Linked DNA regions of Homo sapiens: region 2 is linked to region 1. Evidence: promoter capture Hi-C in human tissues and cell types (Jung and others, 2019). All regions are on one chromosome and are shown on one strand. Each heading gives the region's core, a stretch centred on a gene start or on the middle of the fragment in contact. The rest is flanking DNA. Distances are from core to core; before and after follow the strand shown.

Region 1 (7,261 bases), core at 1,527-4,026:
ACCCCTGGATTTGCGGGGGACCAGATTACCCCTCAATGAATATCTCCCAGGGTGTCTCCTCTGTGGGTCAGGCTCCTCCAGGCCAGACCCTGAATGGGGGTGGTTCAAGATTACTCTGGGCTCAGCCTCTGGGGACCTGGACTCGAGCGAGGCCTTGCCCCTCTCCGGGCCTCAGTGCCCCATCTTCAAAACGGGGGGTGAGGCCAAGGAGCCTGTGGCCCCATGGAGGAGGCTCCCACAGACCTGGGGTTCATGAGGCTGTGAGGAGGGTAGGCAGAGAGGAGCGCACCCCGCCGCCTCCCGACCCTCCCACCCCAGAGACACGTGGCAGCAGGTGGGGTGGGGCCAGGTTTATTATTGGGTCCATGGTGGGTGAATGGGAGTTGGGGCACAGCCATCTCAGCCCAACCCGGAGCTGAGGCCAGCAGGCTGGCTCTGGCTTCTGACCTGCTGGGCAGGCCGGAGCTCCAGGGGAGGCTAGAGGCTCTGCTCTGGAAGAGAGATCAGAGAGGCAAGGAGAGACACCGAGAGGGAGAAACCGAGTCGGGGGAGGCAGGGTCAGCGCCAGCAGGTGGGGCTGCCCACGCCCCAGAGCACTGGCCCGTCCCACAGTGCAGGGAACCAGGGAACCAGGTCCCAAGGAACGAGGGCTAGATACCCCCGACTCTCCCGTGGCTACATGAGGGGTTCCCAGAGCCCAGGTGGAACCAGGTACACAGTGGGATGTTAGAATTAGTCTCAGTCGCTAGGGCAGGGTGGCACTGATGAGCCTGGCTGCTGAGAGGGGAAGCAGGGCTGAGAAGGGGAGCTGGAGGCAGCAGGGCCTAGAAGCACCCAGTGTCCAGGGCCCAGGCCCTCCGCACCCCTGGGCAGAGCAGCAATGGCCCTGAGGAGCCCCGGGTATCCCAGGAGAGGGTGCGTTGGGGCCCAGGCAGCCTCCCTCACCTGAGCAGGTGCGCTTGTTACGGTGCAGGACGTAGCCTGCGCGGCAGGAGCAGTAGAAACCGCCCAGGTGGTTGTGGCAGTGGTGGTCGCAGGTGGGCGCCTCTCCCGGGGCCACCTGGCACTCGTCAATGTCTGGGGGAGAGGCAGGGCCAGGCAGGCCGTCAGGAGGGAAAGAGGCGGGATCCAGCCTGGACTCCTCCCAGGAGATCCATGACCTCAGAGTGGACCTCAGAGGAGGCCTCGTCCTGTCTAGGGTGCGGGACTGGTGCCGGGCCAATCACCTTACAGGCCTAGGGTCGCTGCAAGCTCCCAGCAGCGCTGGGAGAAAGATGCAAACATCACCTCTGTTAAACCAGTGGGAGTTTCAGTGTCCGGCCCGAGGTCACCCAGCTAATGAGGGGAGTCAATCAAACCCAGGGGGCGGGGCTACAGCGCTGAACCCTTGCAGCAGCTTCCTAAGGAGCAGAGAAATTGAGCCACTTGCCAGAGGTCACACAGTTGGTCTCTGCAGGGACTGGGATCTGAAATCAAACATCCTGGCAGCGCTCCCGCTGGCAGGGCCCCACTTTGTCAGCTGTAAATGGGGCCCTCGGCCCCTGCGTCGTTTTTGTTTTTTGTTTTTTGAGACGGAGTCTAGCTCTGTCGCCCAGGCTGGAGTGTAGTGGTGCAATCTCTGTTCACTGCAGCCTCCACCTCGCAGGTTCAAGCAATTCTCCTGCCTCAGCCTCCCTAGTAGCTGGGATTCCAGGTGCGCACCACCACGCCCAGCTAATTTTTGTAGTTTTAGTGGAGATAGAGTTTCACCGTGTTGCCCTGGCTGGCCTTGAACTCCTGACCTCAAATGATCAGCCAGCCTCGGCCTCCCAAAGTGCTGGAATTACAGGCGTGAGCTGCTGCGCCCGGCCAGTCCCTGCGTCACTTGAGGCGATGCTGTCCTCAGATCCCTGGCTCAGAGTTGGCACTCAGCCCATGTGAATGGAGGTCACGGCTGTTTTGGTCTTTGCATTGTGGATGATGTCAGGCCAGAGGCCTCTCCCCTGCCCTGGGAAAGGTGGGGAAACTGAAGGCAGGGCTGCCTGGCCTAAGACAGAGTTACCCCCACAGCCAGCTGCGCAGACTGAGATGTTGCAGGACCCCTCTTGGCTCACCCTCGGCTGCATAGAAGGCCTCGAACCCCGTGAACGGCTTCTCGTTGGAGTAGTCGGAGCGGAAGGTAATGTCCAGGCTGGAGCCCAGCGAGTAGAAAGTGTCCTTGCCAGGGGCCCGCTCCGTGTCTGTGCTCTCCTGCCCGCACAGCGTGGCCAGCACCTTGGCCCCCGAGCTCAGCTGTGGGGTCAGGTGTCACAGGGAGTGAAGGCAAGACCCAGGCCTGATCTCCCTCCTGGCCAAGCCTGGCCCCTGCTCCCAGGTGTCCCTGAACCCTGGCTACTCCTTGGGGACCCCCCGACCCTGAGAAACCCCAGCCCTCCCGTCCTGACGGCACCTTGACGAAGTCGTACTCGCAGAGGTGGGAGAGCTCCAGGTCGAAGTGGGTGAAGTAGAGGCGCAGGCGGTAGCCGGGGGGTGCAGTCAGGGTCCAGCGCCGCTCCTGGTCATTGGCATACTCCCCTGGAAAGCCGGGGGATGCCAGGCGCCCGAACACAGGTTCAGGCCACTTCGGGCCCAAGGGGGTGGCCACCGAGCCACACAGAAGGCCCAGGAGGGTCAGCAGCCTATGGGCAGGGCAGGGGCGGTGAGGGCCCAGGCCTGTGCTCCCACCCCACACCCTGCAGGGAGGCTGTGGGCGCCCACCTACCTCATGGTGTGCCCGTCCAGCTGGCCTGGCCTGGTCTGCAGCCCTACGCTGGTCTCACCTTTGATCTGTTTGTCCAGTGACCTGCCCCTGCCCCCAGCCTCCCTGACTCTGGGATTCTGGGAATCGACTCCATGACTCCAGCCTGCTCAGAGTTCCAGGCAGGCAGGACAGGCTGCTCTGGGAGCCAGGAGTCGGACCTAGGTAACAACAGCCTGGAAACAAATCCTGGCTCTGCCCCTCACCCCTCCCTTTTTTTTGGATCTTGTTCTGTTGCCCCGGCTTCAGTGCAGTGCTGCAATCATAGCTCACTGCAGCCTCTACTTCCTGTGTTCAAGCAATCCTCCCACCTCAGCCTCCCAAGTAGCTGGGATTACAGGCGAGCACCACCACACCTGGCTAATTTTTTATTTTTGGTAGGGATGGGGTTTCTCCATGTTGGTCAGGCTGGTCTTGAACTCCTGCCCTCAGGTGATCCACCTGCCTTAGCCTCCCAAAGTGCTGGGATTACAGGTGTGAGCCACCGTGCCCAGCCTCAGGCTGGCTAATTTCTTAAACCCTGTCAGAAGGACCTGGTGCCACCAATTCCCGATTCCCTTGCAGGCTTAGAAGTCGCTTTTGGCTGGGCTCGGTGGCTTATACCTGTAATCCCAGCACTTTGGGAGGCCAAGGTGGGTGGATCACGAGGTTGGGAGTTTGAGACCAGCCTGACCAACATGGTGAAATCCCATCTCTACTAAAAATACAAAAATCATCCAGGTGTGGCAGCGCGCACTTATAATCCCAGCTACTCGGGAGGCTGAGGCAGGAGAATTGCTTGAGCCTGGGAGGCGGAGGTTGCAGTGATCCGAGATCGCACCACTGCACTCCAGCCTGGACGACAGAGTGAGACTCCACCTCAAAAAAAAAAAAAAAAAAAAAGAAGTTGCTTTCCAGGCAGTTATTTCACACCTGTTTATCTGTTCTTCCAGCTTCCAGAACTTTGAGGCTGCTGCTTCCTCTTCCACACTCTGTCCTCATGGATTCATGTCTTGTCTTTTTTTTTTTTTTATCCCCTTTATATTTGTTTTTGTTTTTTGTAGAGATGGGGGTCTCCCTGTGTTGCCCAGGCTGGTCTTGAACTCCTGAGCCAAAGCGATGCACCTGCCTCAGCCTCGCAAAGTGCTGGGATTACAGGTGTGAGCCACCAAACCTCTGCCTCCGGGGTTCGAGCAATTCTCCTGCCTCAGCCTCCCGAGTAGCTGGGATTACAGGCATGCGCCACCACGTCCGGCTAGTTTTGTATTTTTAGTAGAGACGGAGTTTCTCCATGTTGGTCAGGCTGGTCTCGAACTCCCAACCACAGGTGATCCACCCGCCTCAGCCTCCCAAAGTGCTGGGATTACAGGCGTGAGCCACCATGCCTGGCCTATTTTCTTTTAGAGACCGGGACTCTGGCTGGGTGTAGTGACTCCTGCCCATAATCCCAGGAGGCTGGGAGGCTGAGGCAGGTGGGTCGCCTGAGACCGGGAGTTCAAGACCAGCTTGGGCAACATAGCAAGACCTTGTCTCTAAAAAAAAAAAAAATTTTTTTAAATTAGCCAGGCATGGTGGCATGCACCTTTAGTCCCAGCTACTTGGCAGGCTGAGATGGGACAATCGCTTGAGCCCAGGAGGTCTCAAGGTTGCAGTGAGCCATGTTCATGCCATTGAACTCCAGCCTGGGTGACAGAGTAAGATTTTGTCTCAAAAAATACATACATAGCAATAATAATAATGCAAGAAAATTTCCCAGAACTGAAGAACGTGATACTGATCGAAAGTGTGCCCCAAGTGCCCAGAAAAGGAGATAAAAATATTAATACAGCTTTACACATATTTAAAAACACTGGAGAGAATAATTATGTTTTACAAACAAAGAGAAAGAGAAAAATCAAATAGTAAATCACATGCAAAAGATCAGGAAAAAGAATTATTTTGGAGTTAAACCTCATCTCTACTAAAAATACAAAACTTAGCTGGGCATGGTGTTGCGTGCCTGTAATCCCAGCTACCTGGAAGGCTGAGGCAGGAGAATCGCTTGAACCTGGAGGCTGCAATGAGCCAAGATTGTGCTACTGCACTCCAGCCTGGGACACAGCGAGACTCCATCTCAAAAAAAAAAAAAAAAAAAAAAAAAAATAGACGGAGTCTCGCTCTGTCCCAGGCTGGAGGGCAGTGGTACGATCTCAGCTCATTGCAGCATCCACCTCCTGGATTCAAGCGATTCTGCTGCCTCAGCCTCCCAGGTAGCTAGGATTAGAGGCATGTGTCAACACGCCAGGCTAATTTTTGTATTTTTAGTAGAGACAGGGTTTCACCATGTTGGCCAGGCTGGTCTCGAACTCCTGACCTTGTGATCCGCCAGCCTCAGCCTCCTAAAGTGCTGGGATTACAGGCGTGAGCCACCATGTCCAGCCGAGACTCCATCTTAAAAAAAAAAAGAAAAGAAAAAGAAAGAAAGAAACTACACCTGTCTTGTGACTGCTCATTAATCTTGCCAAGGTGGAGGCCGGGCACGGTGGCTCACACCTGTAATCCCTGCACTTTGGGAGGCTGAGGTGGGTGGATCACGAGGTCAGGAGATTGAGACCATCCTGGCTAACACGGTGAAAGCCCGTCTCTACTAAAAATACAAAATTAGCCGGGTGTGGTGGTGGGCACCTGTAGTCCCAGCTACTTGGGAGGCTGAGGCAGGAGAATGGCGTGAACCCGGGAGGCGGAGCTTGCAGTGAGCCAAGCTCGCGCCACTGCACTCCAGCCTGGGTGACAGAGCAAGACTCCGTCTCAAAAAAAAAAATCTTACCAAGGTGGTGGTTCAGCCCCCGAACAGGGAAGAGAGTAGTTTTAGGGAGAACTATTATTATTCTTGTTTCAAGTTAAACTCTAAATTCCTCCGCCGGTCAGCTGGGCCTACACCCAGGAATGAGCAGGGTCAGCTTGGAGGTCAGGAGCAGGATGGGGTCGGTTATGTCATAATTTTGCAAGGGTGGTTTCAATAGGAAGACATAAGGTCCAAGAGATGCCATTCACTAAGGGACTCCATTGGGGGCGGTGAGAAGGCTCTGGACAGCTTCTCCAGAAAGGGGACGATGACAGAACACCTGTTGAGTCCAAGGAGCATTAGAGAATTGGTGAAAAATTTGGGGCCAAATTAGTGATAAATTTATTGAAAACTAAGTAAATGAGAAACAAACAAAAAAAGAACCTCCAGGGAAAACAAGAAGCTGTGTAGGAGATAAAATGTTATCATAAGGCCAGATGCGGTGGCTCACACCTGGAATCCCAGCACTTTGGTGGTTTGTTTTTTTTTTTTTTTTTTGAGATGGAGTTTTGCTCGTTGCCCAGGCTGGAGTGCAATAGCGCGATCTCGGCTCACTGCAACCTCCGCCTCCTGGGTTCCAGTGATTCTCCTGCCTCAGCCTCCCTAGTAGCTGGGATTACAGGCATGCACCACCACACCCGGCTAATTTTGTATTTTTAGTAGAGATGGGGTTTCTCCATTTGGTCAGGCTGGTCTTGAACTCTTGACACTGGGCCCAGCCTTAATCCCAGCACTTTGGGAGCCCGAGGCGGGTGGATCACTTGAGGTCAGGGGTTTGAGACCAGCATGGACGTGCCTGTAAGCCCAGCTACTCCGCCTCCCAAGTTCAAGCAATTCTCTTGCCTCAGCCTCCCCAGTAGCTGGGCTTACAGGTGCCCGCCACCACACCCGGCTAATGTTTGTACTTTTAGCAGAGACCACGTTTCACCATGTTGGTCAGGCTGGTCTTGAACTCCTGACCTCAGGTGATCCGCCCGCCTCGGCCTCCCAAAGTGCTGGGATTACAGGCATGAGCCACAGTGCCCTAACTCAAGCAATTCTTAAACAAAAGCCTGGTCAGGCGCGGTGCTACCTGACTGTCAGTTACATGGAGGCGGGCCAGAGTGCAGCCTGATCAATGCTAAATTATAACTCTATTTCTGTCCAGAATTATTCTTTTATTTTTTCTTTTGCTTTTTCCTTTTATTTTCTTTAACTGGTTTTTTTCTTTTTTTTCCTTTTTTTTTTTAAGACAGAGTCTTGCTCTGTCACCCAGGCTGGAGCGCAGTGGCGCGATCTCGGCTCACTGTAACTGTAACCGCCCAAGGGGTTCACCTTGCCAGCTGTCTAGACAGAGCTGATTCATCAAGACAGGGGAATTGCAATAGAGAAAGAGTAATTCACGCAGAGCTGGCTGTGCGGGAGACCAGAATTTTACTATTACTCAAATCAGTCTCCCCGAACATTCGGGGAGTAGAGTTTTTAAGGATAACCTGGTGGGTAGGGGGAAGCCAGTGAGCCAGGAGTGCTGACTGGTCAGAGATGAAATCACAGGCAGTCGGAGTCAGAGCTGTTTTCTTGCACTGAGTCCTGGGTGGGGGTCACAAGATCAGATGAGCCCGTTTATCCATCTGGGTGGTGCCGGCTGATCCATCAAGGCAGGATCTGCAAAATATCTCAAGCACTGATCTTAGGAGCAGTTT
Region 2 (4,304 bases), core at 365-2,864, 750 kb after region 1:
ACGCCAGGGCTCAAGCCATCCTCCTGCCTCAGCTTCTCAAGTAGCCGGGACTACAGGCACGTGCCACTATGCCCAGCTTTCCCACTTTTTACAGAGTAGAGCAGCTGCCCTAAGCATTCCAGCCTTGGGTTGAGCCAGCCTTTTAGCCCTAGATGTGTCTGTTGGTAACATGGTGTCATCTAACCCAGCTGTTCCCATGCTGCACTGATCATCCGAATCACCTGCCAAGCTCAAGAAGTAAAACACACATTCCGAGGACCTCCCTCAGATTTACTGAGTGAGAACCTCCAGGGGTGGGACCTGGAGATCCACTTTTTGAAAAAGCTTATCAAGTGGTTCTGATGACAGCCACCTTTGGGAAACACTGATTTAAGCAGGATTTGTAATGAGAATTAGAATCCCTTTTGGTGATGCTTGTTGGCCAAAGTACAACAAACCCCTCAACAGACACTGTTGCTGGGTTTTGGGGGGAAAATTAGAGGTAACCAAAATGGGGTGGCCAAGCAACGCTGTGCAAGTTCTGGACCTGAGAGGAGATCTGGGAAGAACTCAGCGAACTCAGCACTCCACCCAGAGCCCCCAGCCTGTGCGAGGACGGTGCGGTGAGAGTGGGGTGGAGGGAGCTTATGGGCTCTCCTGGGCCCCTCACCTGGATGGGAAAGATCCCGGGGACGATGGGGCAAGTGATGCCCATGTCGGTGCATGCCTTCACAAAGCGGAAGAATGTGTCAGCCTCAAAGAAAAGCTGCGTGATGATGAAATCGGCTCCCGCAGACACCTTCTCCTTCAAGTGCTTCAGGTCAGCCTCAAAGCTCCCTGCTTCGGGGTGGCCTTTGGGGTAACCTGCCAATAGGGATGACAGTCAGGAGAGGCTGGCCTCCACCTGTTCAAGGCGAGGGATGAAGAGACCACAGGGACTGGGCAGAGAGAGTCCTCTGCTTTGGGGGCTCTGATCTTGCACCTTCCAACAGCACAGCACAGCCTGAACTAAAACAGTGAGTGGCTGGGCTCATGACTGATATGCTTCTGACCCCAGAGATGACTCTCAGGGGAGGTGGCTCAGAGCCCAGTTCCAAGAGTGGGGGTGGATTGCTCCAAACTCCCACACTGTCCTGCCTTGAGCAGCCAAGCAAATCAGGCCTGCACTTGGTGGCCATAGAAAAGAGAAAATGCTACAGTTAGCACTGGCTGGGCAGCATCTGGGGTAGTAAGCTTGACTTTTCTCTAGGCACCGGATTAAACATTGTTTTTAATGTAACACTGAAATTACTCAGGGGTCCAAGATAGTGAAAAGCTAAAAACCAAGTTACACAAGGAAGAACTGAAGAAAGTGATGTTTTCTTCAAAGAAAATAATGGATGGCAGGGTGCGGTGGCTCATGTCTGTAATCCCAGCACTTTGGGAGGCCAAGGCAGGAGGATGACCTGAGGTCAGGAGTTCGAGACCAGCCTGGCCAACATGGTAAAACCCCGTCTCTACCAAAAATACAAAAATTAGCCAGGTGTGGTGGTGTATGCCTGTAATAGCTACTCAGGAGGCTGAGTCAGGAAAATTGCTTGAACCCACGAGACAGAGGTTGCAGTGAGCCGAGATCGTACCATTGCACTCTAGCCTGGGCAACGAGAGCGAAACTCCGTCTCAAAAAAAAAAAAAAAAAAAAGAATGAAAAGAATACAGAAACTCCTTTCAAATGTCCAAAGGTCTGTCCTGGGGAAAAAGGATCCACCATAGGTGAGTTTGTTTTGTTTTGTTTCAGAGACAGGGTCTTGCTCTGTCACCCAGGCTAGAGTGCAGTGATACAATCATGGCTCACTGTAGCCTTGAACTCCCGGGCACAAGTGATCTCCCACTTCAGTCTCCTGAGTAGCTTGGACTACAGATGCAAGCCACCACATCTGGCTAATTAAAAAAAATTTTTTTAATTAATTATTTATTTTTTAGAGATGGGGTCTTGCTATCTTGTCCAGGTTTGTCTGGAACTTCTGGGCTCAAGCAATCCTCCCACCTTGGCCTCCCAAAGTGCTGAGATTACAGGCATGAGCCACTGTACCCAGCCCCCTAGTGAAGTTCTTTATTAGTCATATTCTGTGTTGTTTCTAATGGCAGAACCAGCATCCGGTTCAGAGAGCTGGCTAGAGTACTATAAGCCACTCACAAAACAATGAGCTCCTGGAGTCTGAAAACACAGGGGCAGTGGATGCTGAAGACAAGATTCCAGAATTGCTTAGGAGGTGGGATCAGATGTCCCATAGGCTCCTTACTGGCTCTGTGAACTCTCTGACCCCTTTCCTCAATGACTAAACTTACTAGCCGCCTTGCTCGGTCAGGCAAGCAGGATGACCATAGGCCTTCATGAAACTACATGGAGTGCTGGTTTCATCAGCCCAAGCCCAGGGCAGGACTCTGAGCCAGGCGGAAGGCCAAGCTGCTTTGCTCTGATAAGGCAGTTCCGTTCTTAAGAAACCCAGAGTCATCAAAAAATGAATATAAAAACTATTGTTTCAAGGGGTAAGGGAGTGGGGGATAAAGCAATGGGGCTTCACACTTGCAATAACAAAGCTATTTTCCCAGTAGGAATTTCAGAAACAACAAGGCTTTTTAATAGCTGAAAAGTATAGCTACAATACCTAAATATCACCGAACAAATCTAGCATTTGATTACGTATAGATTTTGCTATTTACTCTATTTTTCTATCATGAACAGCTGAGGGCTTTCTTTTTTAAAATGTTTTTATTTTTTGTAGAGACACGGTCTCACTGTGTTGCCCAGGCTGGTCTTGATCTCCTGCCTCAGTCTCCCAAAGCTCTGGGATTACAGGCATGAGCTACCATGCCCAACAGGTTGGTGTTTTCTAATCCACTCATCTTCATTACCCACTTGATAAGCAAAGTAAGAAACCATTCAGCAACTGTGAGCTCACAGCTTCACTAGTTTCCAATCATTATCACCTAACGCCCATCACGGGTGCATATTCCCCCAGTAACTGACTATATAATGGCTGATACAAGCGATGACAATTTAACAGTTGGAAATGTCTGTTCTCTGACTCCTAATCAGTGCTTCCCAGACTTAGCACCTAAACACCCCTGTTGACAGAATGGACATGTCCATCGGGGGTTAGGGACAAGGCCAAAGTTACTCACAACATGTAATTTTCTTGAAGCCACGTGGTTTGTTTTTTGGGTTTTTTGTTTTGTTTTTTTTGAGACGGAGTCTGGCTCTGTTGCCCAGGCTACAGTGCATTGGTGCGATCTCGGCTCACTGCAAGCTCCGCCTCCTGGGTTCAAGCGATTCTCCTGCCTCAGCCTACCAAGTAGCTGGGACTACAGGCACGCGCCACCATGCCCGGCTAATTTTTGTATTTTTAGTAGAGACGGGGTTTCACTATGTTGGACAGGATGGTCTCAAACTCCTGATCTCATGATCCACCCGCCTTGGCCTCCCAAAGTGCTGGGATTATAGGCTTCAGCCACCGCACCTGGCCTTTTTTTTTTAGTTCATATCACTTTAGATGCTACTCCATAACATAGCCATGTTTAATATAAAAATGGTAGGATTTCTCCCAGAATATTGGCAAAAAAACTGTCATCCCAGAAAATGTGCCAATCCCGGGACTTCCTGTCCCTGGTGCACACTGTCTTGCCATACCTGAGCGCTGTCTGAGACGCTGAGGGCTCAATGCCAGCCTTCAGCTTCAAGGGTGGGAGAGAAGTCCAACCCACCCATTTCTGTTGGGGGAACCTGGTCTTGTGGCTGTGGCCAATGGTGATTCTCTTTCCTGGGAATTTGGAACGGAGGCCTGTCCATTAGCCTGGGGAACTGGCTGGAACTGACACTCTGCACACTCAGGAGCAGGCCAGGTGTGTGGAAAAGCATGGGTATCAGGTCTCCCAGATGAAGCACAGATGTGCAGTGGGAAGCGGAGATGGGGGACCCTGTGGCCCCAGAGGGAATGAGGGAGGGCCTTGCTTTTTGACCTCTTCCAGTGCCTTGTGAGGTCTGAGGCCATCTCCTGATCTTGGGTTCCCTGCCCTCTGGAATCCTGTTAGTAAATATCCCTCTTTTGTGGGGTGTTGTTTTTTTTTTTTTTTTGAGATGGAGTCTTGCTCTGCCACTGAGGCTGGACTGCAGCGGCACCATCTCGGCTCACTGCAACCTCCGCCTCTTGGGTCCAAGAGATTCTCCTGGCTCAGCCTCCTGAGTAGCTGGGACTACAGCCGTGCACCACCACACCTGGCTAATTTTTGTATTTTTAGTAGAGACGGGGTTTCGCTATGTTGGCCAGGCAGGTCTCAAACTCCTG

Evidence for each region. Contacts are between HindIII fragments. The study calls those that stand out against the background at their distance.
Region 2: a contact is called between a fragment that was not itself captured here and the fragment with the promoter of MASP2 in region 1, in 1 of the 25 tissues and cell types used here (dorsolateral prefrontal cortex).

The regions. Positions count from the first base shown.
Region 1 is chr1:11,044,463-11,051,723 of GRCh38, forward strand. It overlaps MASP2 (MBL associated serine protease 2), which reads right to left and starts at 2,777. Exons shown (of 11, transcript NM_006610.4): 1 at 2,741-2,777; 2 at 2,429-2,657; 3 at 2,094-2,271; 4 at 946-1,077. The coding sequence starts at 2,745. RefSeq lists an enhancer at 1,282-2,114. The HindIII fragment of the contact is 18,625 bases long and covers 1-7,261 here.
Region 2 is chr1:11,795,557-11,799,860 of GRCh38, forward strand. MTHFR (methylenetetrahydrofolate reductase) reads right to left here. Exons shown (of 12, transcript NM_005957.5): 5 at 650-843. Among named protein-coding and RNA genes, the nearest start is that of MTHFR, 8.3 kb to the right of the region's middle. The HindIII fragment of the contact is 7,275 bases long and covers 1-4,304 here.